2 separate regions of the Homo sapiens genome follow, and region 1 is linked to region 2. The links are contacts of gene promoters, found by promoter capture Hi-C in blood cells and fetal thymus (Javierre and others, 2016). All regions are on one chromosome and are shown on one strand. Each heading gives the region's core, a stretch centred on a gene start or on the middle of the fragment in contact. The rest is flanking DNA. Distances are from core to core; before and after follow the strand shown. Region 1 holds the start of NCOA6 (nuclear receptor coactivator 6). Region 2 holds the start of CEP250 (centrosomal protein 250).

Region 1 (5,386 bases), core at 416-2,915, 630 kb after region 2:
TAAGGTGCCCCCCTGTTGCGGTTGCCTGTGGTTCTCTTTGCTCCTGTCTGCCCTCTTGGGCCCAATACCTAGTATTGTGCTTAGGATTCACAAACGCAACAAATACTTACTGAGCACCTACTCTGTGCCAGGTGCTGTGCTATATGCTGAGAAAACAATGTTAAACAAGATGGATAAGGTTTTCTTCCTTATGGTGTCCATAGTCTAGTGGCAAAGACAGGTAATAATGACTCAGTGTATTCTACTAAGGACAAGCATATCGTGCTAAGAAAACCTGTGTGGGAATGGGTCAGGGAAGGTATCCTTGGAGTAGCCCCGTTTGAACTGGGATCTGAAGACTGAGAGTTATCTAAGTGGGGAGAGCATTGCAGGCAGGGGGATCAGCATGTGCAAGGGTTCTCAGAAAGGAGGGAGAACAATGTGTAAGAAATATCACTGTAGTTGCAACCCAGAGAAAGGGGAAGAGGGCCCTAAGATAAATCTAGAGATGTGGGGAGGCCAACATTTATTTGGTCTTTATCTTTTTTTTAGAGACGGAGTCGCGCTCTGTCGCCCAGCCTGGAGTGCAGTGGCGCGATCTCGGCTCACTGCAAGCTCCGCCTCCTGGGTTCACACCATTCTCCTGCCTCAGCCTCCCGAGTAGCTGGGACTACAGGCGCCTGCCACCACGCCCGGCTAATTTTTTGTATTTTCAGTAGAGACGGGGTTTCACCGTGTTAGCCAGGATGGTCCGATCTCCTGATCTTGTGATCTGCCCGCCTCGGCCTCCCAAAGTGCTGGGATTACAGGCGTGAGCCACCGCGCCCGGCTTGGCCTTTATCTTAAGAGCAATGTAGAGCCATCAGATTTTTTTTTTTTTTTGAGACAGGGTCTCACTCTATTGCCCAGGCTGGAGTGCAATGATATGATCTTAGCTTACTGCAGCCTCAACCTCCCAGGCTCAGGCAATCCTCCCACCTCAACCTCCAAAGTGGCTGGGGCCACAGGTGTGCAGCACCATGCCTGCTATGTTTTTGTCTTTTGTTGTCTTTTTGAGACACGGTTTCCCTTTGCCACCCAGGCAGGAGGGCAGTGGTGTTATCTCGGCTCACTGAAGCCTCCACCTTCCAGCTCAAGTGATTCTTGCCTCATGCCTCAGCCTCCCGATTAGCTGGGACTACAGGTGTGCACCACCATGCCCAGCTAATTTTTGTATTTTCAGTAGAGATGGGGTTTTGCCATGTTGCCCAGACTAGTCTCGAACTTCTGAGCTGACGTGATCCACCCACCTCGACCTCCCAAAGTGCTGGAATTATAGGCATGAGCCACTGAGCCCAGCCATTTTTGTATTTTTTGTTGAGACAGCGTTTGCCATGTTGCTCAGCCCGGTCTTGAACTCCTGGGCTCAAACAATCCACCTGCCTCAGCCTCCCAAAGTGTTGGGATTACAGGTGTGAGCCACTGCACCTGGCCATCAACAGATACTTTTAAGTAGAGTAGTGACATGATCATATTTCTGATCATTAGAAACATTACTCTGACAGCAGGGTGGAGAATAGATTAGAGGGCGGTCAGGGTAATGTGAAAAGATGGTGGGTATCTACTACACCAGTCCAAGCACACTGTGTGTACTCAATAAATATTGATGGAATGAAAGGGTTCCTGACTCCCTTTCTTCTATGGGATCAGTAGGACTGATTTGTTTAATTAGTTTACAATCCACCTGCTCATCCTCTATCTCCTGGGATGCTCAGAACAGACCCCAACTCCCATTTTACAGATGAAGATGCTCAAGTTCAGAGAGGCAAGGACAGCTATCAAGAGCGAAAGCCAAAGAGAGCTGCCATACAATCCAGCAATCCCATTCTTAGGTATACACCGGAAAGAAAGGAAATCAGTGTATGGAAGAGATCTGCACTCTCATGTTTACTGCATCCCTGTTCACAACAGCCAAGATTTGGAAGCAACCTAAGTGTCCATCAACAGATGAATGGATAAATAAAATGTACATATACACAATGGAATACTATTCCGCCATTAAAAAAGAGTGAGATCGTGTCATTTGCAACAATATGGATGGAACTGGAGGTCATTATGTTATGTGAAAGAAGCCGGGCACAGAAAGACAAACTTCACATGTTCTCACTTATTTGTGGGAGCAAAAAATTAACTATTTTTTATTTTTTTTTGAGACGGAGTCTCACTCAGCCACCTAGGCTGGAGTGCAGTGGCGCGAGCTAGGCTCACCGCAACCACCATCTCCCAGGTTCAAGAGATTCTCCCGTCTCAGCCTCCTGAGTAGCTGGGATTACAGGCACCCGCCATCATGCCCACCTAGCTTTTGTATTTTAGTAGAGACAGGGTTTCACCATGTTGGCCAGGCTGGTCTTGAACTCCTGACCTCAGGTGATCCGCCCATCTTGGCCTCCCAAAGTGCTAGGATTACAGGCGTGAGCCACCATGCCGGGCCAGGAGCGAAAAATTAAAACAATTGAACTCATGGAGATAGAGAATAGAAGGAGGGTTACCAGAGGCTGGTAAGATTAATGGGGAGGTAGGTGGGAAGTGGGAATGATTAACGGGTACAAAAGAATAGTTAGAAAGAATAAGACCTAGTATTTGCTAGCACAAGAAGGTGACTACAGTAAAAAACAATTGGCCGGGCGCGGTGGCTCACGCCTATAATCCCAGCACTTTGAGGGGCAGAGGCGGGCGGATCATGAGGTCAGGAGTTCCTGACCAGCCCGGCCAATATGGTGAAACCCCATCTCTACTTAAAAAATATACAAAAATTAGCTGGGCGTGGTGGCATGCGCCTGTAGTACCAGCTACTCAGGAGGCTGAGGCAGGCGAATCCCTTGAACCAGGGAGGCGGAAGTTGCAGTGAGCTGAGATCGCGCCACTGCACTCCAGCCTGGGCGACGGAGTGAGACTCCGTCTCAAAAAAACAAAAATAAAACAAAAAACAAAAAAAAAACCACACACACACAAAATTTACTTGTACATTTTAAAATAACTAGAGTATAATTGGGTTATTTGTAACACAAAGGATAAATGCTTGAGTTGCTAGATACCCCATTTACCATGATGTGATTACACATCGCATGCCTGTATCAAAATCTCATGTACCCCATAAATATATTCACCTACTACGTACTTACGAAAATTTAAAAAATACATCAGTGTAGTGTGGGAAAAAACAGAAAATTTTTAAAAAAGAGTGAAAGCCAGATATGAATCCAGGCCTGTATGACAGACATGAAGTCCAGTGCTGAGGAGGCCTTTCTACGTTTGGGAAGAGGGGAGGGGCCACACTCGTTCGATCAATAATTCTATTTACTGAGCATTTTAGCTTGCTAGGGAGGTAATGATGGGAAAAAGAAGAGAGGGATTTAGAGGCAAATAATAATGAAAGCTTTTATCTATATCCCATTAAGCTTATTATTAGACAGTATGTGTCAGGCACGGTGACAAGTGCTTTCCAAGCCCACCTCCATTTGCTCTTCACAAGCACTATGATTTTCCCCATATTTCAGATGGGTAAACTGAGGCTTGGAGTTGCCATGTCCAAGGATACTCAGAGCGCTCGCAAAAGACTGTGCAATGTGTGCTTCCGAAGTGGGACTCACTGGCGAGAGAATAGCCCTGGAAAGCCGACAGAGACCCACGAGATCCCAGCACTAAGCACTCAGCACCGAAGGGAGCTGGCGCGCGCTCCACCTCGCGCTCCCGGGGACGTCTGGTCACGTGGGCAATGCCCCGCCCCTCGAGTCCGCCCCGCCCCCTCTCGCGCTCCCTCCCTCTCTCCCTCCCTCCCCCTCCCTCCCCGGCCCGGTCCGGCCCATCCCCCTCCCCGCCGGCTCCGTGAGGCCCTGCCGGGTCGGGCTGCGGGCGGCCGGGCGCGGGCGGCGGGACAGACGGGCGCACGCGAGGACTGACGGACGGACGCACCGAGGGCGGCGGGCACGCACGGCCCGGGCCGGCGCTCCAAGGCCCGCCCGGGAGGGCCGGGGCCGCGCTCAGGTGAGGGGACGGCGGCGCGGGCCCGTAAGGGGTGGGCCCGCCGGGCGTCCGCGGTCCTTGTCGGGCTGGCTTCGCGGGGAGGAGGCGCCGCCCGGGCCCGCGCGGAAAAATGGCGCCGGGCGACCGAGTGGCACGGTCTGAGAGCGGGCCCGGCCCGGAGCCGCCCCGCCCGCCGCGCTTGTGTCCCCGTCGCCATGTTGGGGAGCGGGCCCCAGGCCTGCGGGCGGGGGCGCTGGAGGGAGCGGCGGCCGGGCTGGGTGGGGAGGGTGCTGGGCGCGGGGGCCGGTGCACTGAGGGAGTGCAGGGCTGGCCGGGGTCTGCACGGGGTGGCGCTCCAGGCCTGGGGAACAGGCGGGAGCCGGTCGTGGGGTCGTGGTCAGGGTCGCGGAGAAGGAACACTGGGTCCGAAGGGAACCGGGATTGGGGTCTATGGGCTGAGAGGATGGCAGGACGTGGAACTGGGTTAGGCCTTAGGCGGTGTTAGAGCCCTAATGCAGGTAGGACCTGGGGATTGGGGTGGAGGCATGGGGGCCAAGCTCAGGCTGTCAGGGCTGGAGCAGTTCTTTGCTGGGAGGGAAGGAGGTGATTGATGAGGAATGAGGGCCCTTTGGGTACAGACGCTGGTTCAGATTGGGGCAGTCCTTGGGGTACTGGGGCTGAATTGCAAAGCTGTATAACTCCCAAGGCTCTGAAGACTTATGTCCCAAGCATCCTCCACCCCCTCTTGGGGGAAGCAACAGGAAAAAGGAGGTGTTTGATGAGAGAAAAGGGGGACAAAGGGAGACTGAGGTTTGGGTGCAGGAGCTGGCCAGCAAAAGAGGCACAGAGAGTGGAACTGGTTGGCAAGGAAGGAGAGAACCTTTATCAACTTAGGGAGTTGTGTGTGTCTTTAAAAGGAGGGACCTGGCTGTTTGGGGGCGGTGACCCAAGGTGTCTTCCCTGGAAGGGGACAGCCCACAGCTTAAGAGCAGAGTCACCTGGAGAGGTCATCAGAAAGGCGTTATTGAAGCCAGTAAAATGGTGAAGAAGAGTGAATGTATAAAAACTACAAAGGCCTGAGAGATCAAGTAAAGATTTCAAATCAGGTAGTGATTTTAGCTGAAACATAGAAAGGTAAAGTTGACTTTTCAAGATCTTACAAGTTAGTGGCAGAGGGGTACTAGAAATTGTCGGCTGCTTCCTCACTAAACACATTGCCTTAAAGGAATTTGCTAGCTGGGAGAAAGGTGTTAAGAAATGAAGCATAACATTCTTGTGATGAAACTAAAAGCAAACAAACAAAAACAACAAGAAATGAAGCATAACAGTATATACCAGATAACTATTAAATTTGTTTTCTTCCTGTAATGAGTGTGGCAATACAAAGGCTGAAGGGAATACAAAA
Region 2 (5,155 bases), core at 899-3,398:
CTCACTGCAACCTCTGCCTCCCCGGTTCAGGCAATTCTCATGTCTCAGCCTCCTGAGTAGCTGGGATTACAAGCATGTGCCACCACGACCAGCTAATTTTTTTGTATTTTTAGTAGAGACAGAGTTTCACCAAGGTGGGAGGATCTCTTGAGGCCAGGAGTTCAAGACCAGCCTGGGCAACACAGGGAGATTCCCATCTCTATTAAAAAAAAAAAAATTGCTGGCTGTGTGGCATTCACCTGTAGTCCCAGCTACTTGGGAAGTTAAGGTGGGAGGGCTGCTTGAGCCAAGGAGTTCGAGGCTGCAGTGAGCTGTGATCACGCCACTGCACTCCAGCCTGGGACAAGATGCTCAAATAAATAAATAAATAAAATACTATCACCTCTCCACATAACACTAGTACTTTTATTTACCTTACCATGCTTTTTCTGTCCCTATCTAATTATTATGTAATATACTTACCAAAATGCAAATTCCACAAGTGCAAAAGCATTGTTTTATCGAATGCTGTATTCCCAGCTCCTACCTAAAACACAGCCTGGTTTATAACAAGTGCCCATTATTACTGACTATTATAGGACATTAGGTAACATGATCCATATTATCACCAATGGTCTTGCAAAATGCTAACAGCTCTATTACCTATATAAAAAGCAAAAAAACAGGCTGGGTGTGGTGGCTCACAACTGTAATCCCAGCACTTTGGGAGGCTGAGTTGGGCAGATCATTTGAGGCCAGGAGTTCGAGACCAGCTTGGCCAACATGGCAAAACCCCATCTCTCCTAGAAATACAAAAATTAGCCAGGCACGGTGGCGGGCGCCTGTAATCCCAGCTACTCAGGAGGCTGAGGCGGGAGAATCGCCTGAACCTGGGAGACAGGATGTTCCAGTGAACCCAGATCGCACCACTGCACTCCAGCCTGGGTGACTGAGACCAGGTCTCAAAAAAAAAAAAAAAAGTGGGGGGAGGCATATAACTTATAGCTTGGTCAGTGGCAGAGCAATGACTGAACCCCAATCTGATTCCAAATTCTACACTCTCTCCATTACATTAGCTGTTAAAGCATGAACATTACATTAGTTAAAGCATGGACTACGAACTCACAGCTCTGTGAGGGGCACTTCTTAAATAGTGAGCGATAATGACACCTATGTCTGCAGCTTTCTGATCGAAAAGGAGCAAAGAAAGATAGAAGAACTAAAGGAACAGAGGGCGTACCAGTAGCCTTGGTTTTGTTGTGACCTCTATAAATCTGGGACCAGTTCTCCTTTCTAAGCCTTCGCGGTAAAATACTGATCACAAGCCTAGCCTCCAATAACTCCCAGGGCCAAAGTAAAGATCAATTCAACAGACGTTGATTAAACCCAAAGGCAATCTAGTCAAGTCATCAAATGCCCTGGGGACAGTTTCCCAGCTCCATCCACTTATTAGTTGTGGGACTCCTGGCAAATTACTTTTTCTATGAATACCTCAGTTTCTTCATGGGTAAAACGTGAAGCTATAGAAAGAACTCACCCCATAGGATTGTTGGGAAGATTAAATAGGCCTTTGGCTGAGCGCGGTGGCTCACGCCTGTAATCCCAGCACTTTGGGAGGCCGAAGCGGGCGGATCACCTGAGGTCGGGAGTTCGAGATCAGCCTGACCAACATGGAGAAACCCCGTCTCTACTAAAAACATAAAATTAGCCGGGTGTGGTGGCGCATGCCTGCAATCCCAGCTACTTGGGAGGCTGAGGCAGGAGAATCGCTTGAACCCGGGAGGCGGAGGTTGAGGTGAGCCGAGATCGCGCCATTGCACTCCAGCCTGGGCAACAAGCGCGAAACTCCGTCTCTAAATAAATAAATAAATGGGCCCTTATGTGTAATGCATTCAGTAGCACCTGACAATTTGTGATCATTCCGTACAGTAAGCCATGACTATTATCATCACGTGCTAGGCCCTGGGATCTAGAGATGAAAAAGGCAAGGCATAACATCTAACGAACGAGCTTACGGTGTCAACGAGGGGCCGGGAAAGTAACTCGGTGCACAGCGAGTGCAAAAACCGAGAAGCGAATGCAGCTGCGCCTGGAGAAGGCGGCTGAGAAGCGATACTTCAGCAGGGTCCTGAAGAATGGGAGCTCCAGAGTCGGGTGGCGGGTGGGACTGGGCTTTCGGATAGATTACGTGCAAATCCGCCAGGACACAGGGAGCGAGGGGCGGGGGGGCGGCAGAGCGCGGCGCCTCACCCTCCCAGCCTGGGATTGCGGCTACTGGACACGAGGGTCGGGAAGCTCTCCTTCGGCGCCGACTGGAGCTTAGCGTGCTGGCGGCAGCAAGAAGCTGAGGCAAGCGGGCCCCGGGCCCTAACGACGCGTCCCAGCCCCTCTCTGGGCCTCGGGTTCCTCCCGGGTAACAAGAGGCCGCTGCCCGAACGGGATTCCCTCAGGCGCCCTAGACGGGCGGGTCTCCGGGCCTCGGACGGTTAACCCGAGCACCTCCCACCTGCCCCTGAGGCCCCACCTCACCACGCTCGGCTCCCGCAGACGCCCGGCTAGTTGCTCCGCGATTGAGCTGCGGCAGCCGCTGCTAAGGCCCTGCGGGGGACGGGGGCGGAGCCCACCCCGAGGCAGAGGGCCAGGCCCCGCCCCCCCAAACTCCCGCCCTTTGGGAGGGGCCCGCCCCTCCAAGTCCTGCACCTATAGGCAGACTGAGCCGGCGCAGGGCCTCCCGCCATGTTGGGTATTGGCAGCCGACTTACTAGAGAGGCCCTGAAGGAAAGGGGGTATTATTTTAAGAATTATAAGATCCCTAGCCAGAAATGGGGACGGTCAGGGTCTCTGGATTCGCGAAAGGGACATTTCGGAAGCAGAAAAGAAAAATTGCCCTCAATCATTTCGCTTTTGGCTTCAGTGTTACATACAGCGCATGTGCAAGGTCACCTGGTTCTAGGTGCGCCTGCGCACAGCTCCACCTACAAACCAGACTACAATTACAACTGCCGAGAAACAAAGGGGCTCGCTGCCACTGGTTAGCGATAATACTGGCAGCGCGACCGGTTTCTGAGGGTTGTTCACCTTGCTGCTCAGACGCTCCGAGAAGCTTCAGGCAGCATAACACTTACAGGCGAGTTACTTACTCAACACTCGGTTTTGTCTGCATGTCTCTGCACAGAGTGTTACCTTTACCTGACTTAATCCGTCCCGGAGCTGCAGTTCTGCTTAAGCCTGACTTCTAGAGAACTTTTTCTTCCCAATAGGACCCATGCGTTATTCCTGTAGCATTTTGTGTATAAATTTTTTTTTTTTTTTTTGAAATGGAGTCTTGCTCTGTCGCCAGGCTGGAGTGCATTGGCACGATCTCGGCTCACTGCAACCTCTGCCTCCCAGGTTCAAGTAATTCTCCTGCCTCAGCCTCCCGAGTAGCTGGGACTACAGGCGCCCGCCACCACGCCCGGCTAATTTTTGTATTTTTAGTAGAGACAGGATTTCACCATGTTGGCCAGGATGGTCTCGATCTCTCTTGACCTCGTGATCCTCCCGCCTCGGCCTCCCAAAGGGCTGGGATTACAGGCGTGAGCCACCGCGCCCGGCCTTGTGTATAAATTGTTAATGCACTTTCTTAGAGTTGTAAACTCCATTTACCTGCCTCACTCTTGCACTCAGTGGTTCTCAATTTTTAGTAGGAATTAAAAACAAAACTGGTAAATGCAGACTCTTGGTTTCCACCCCCAGAGAATCCCTAAACCGGGGGTGGAGTCCAGGAATCTGCATTTTAGAAAGTACCCAGGGTGATTCTGATAATTGGGAACACGTTTTAGGAAGCGCTGCATGAGATTGTGAGCTTGAGCGTAGAGACTGTAATTTGGTCATCTGACTATAGCGCTCAGCACAAGGCCTGGTACAAAATAGGTGCTCAATAAGTGCTGAGTGAATGGGTGAATGAGTGGATAGCTCGAGTGAAACAGCAAGGCTTCAGGTTAATCCACAGCCAAAGGTAACCTGAGAAAGGAACGCTTAAAAGCTATATTTTATCTTTCTCCTGTAAGAACACAAAAAAGATCTTAATAGCTAATTTGAGAAATAGAGAAAGTGGAGAGTAAAAGGGGAAGGAAGGACACGGATTCTGAAAGGCAAACTATCTAGAGAGGGGAAAAGGAACATCTCCAGGCACTAGACAGAGAAAACGATGCAAAGAAGCAGTGGTGTGGGATTCCATCCTAGGGAAATAATCCCACAACAGGCATTGTGCTTGAATGTTCACTGCAACAATATTTGAAATACAAATGAAACAATCTAAATATTATGCACATCAAGCTCTTTTCTGCCTCAGGGCGTTTGCATACACTATGCCAGCTACCTAGACCACTTTTCCCCCAGCTCTTGGCCTAGCTGGTACCTTCCTGTCCTTCAGGTCCCAGCTTAAATGATACTTCCTCAACTAGGTCTTCCCTGACCATGCTATCTAAAGTAATACCCTATACTTTCTAGGATAGTCTTCTGTTTCTTTTCTTTTTGAGACGGGGTCTTGCTTTGTCGCCCAGGCTGGAGTGCAGCGGCGCAATCTCGGCTCACTGCAAGCTCCACCATCCGGGTTCACGCCATTCTTCTGCCTCAGCCTCCCCAATAGCTGGAACCACAGGTGCCCGCCACCACGCCCGGCTAATTTTTTTGTATTTTTAGTAGAGACGGGGTTTCACCGTGTTAGCCAGGATGGTCTTGATCTCCTGACCTCGTGATCCGCCCGCCTCAGCCTCCCAAAATGCTGGCATTACAGGCATGCGCCACCGCACCCGGCCGTCTTCTGTTTCTTTCATAGCACTTTCCATTTATTATTTTGTTTTCCTATTAACATTCCCTCCAAAATTTAAGCTTTGTGTGGATAGGAGACTTATTCCTGGGATTTAGCACAGTCTTACACACATGGTAGGTATCAAGTAAGTGTCCATTGAATGAATGAATCAAGTCAGCCCTAGTGTTACAAAGTTTAATGACATAACATCCATTAGCAAACTAGACAATATTTTTTAAGACTATGAGGAGTCGGCCGGGTGCGGTGGCTCACGCCTGTAATCCCAGCACTTTGGGAGGCTGAGGTGGGCAGATCACCTGAGGTTGGGAGTTCAATACCATCCTGACCAACAGGGAGAAACCCCATCTCTACTAAAAATATAAA

The links. The method cuts DNA at HindIII sites, captures the fragments that hold promoters and counts their contacts. A CHiCAGO score of 5 or more calls a contact.
Region 1: a fragment that was not itself captured here is called in contact with the fragment with the promoter of CEP250 in region 2 in 4 of 17 cell types (fetal thymus, endothelial precursors, total CD8 T cells and 1 more); the score reaches 8.4 in fetal thymus.

What each region holds. Positions count from the first base shown.
Region 1 is chr20:34,824,088-34,829,473 of GRCh38, reverse strand. NCOA6 (nuclear receptor coactivator 6) reads left to right here and starts at 3,823. Exons shown (of 15, transcript NM_014071.5): 1 at 3,823-4,002. RefSeq lists silencers at 3,717-3,906, 3,917-4,356. The HindIII fragment of the contact is 3,463 bases long and covers 1-3,396 here.
Region 2 is chr20:35,452,591-35,457,745 of GRCh38, reverse strand. It overlaps CEP250 (centrosomal protein 250), which reads right to left and starts at 2,148. Exons shown (of 35, transcript NM_007186.6): 1 at 1,995-2,148. It overlaps MIR1289-1 (microRNA 1289-1), which reads left to right and starts at 3,649; the gene lies at 3,649-3,792. It also overlaps a transcript of GDF5 not described here. RefSeq lists a silencer at 2,354-2,733 and enhancers at 2,754-2,903, 3,164-3,213. The HindIII fragment of the contact is 4,927 bases long and covers 1-3,084 here.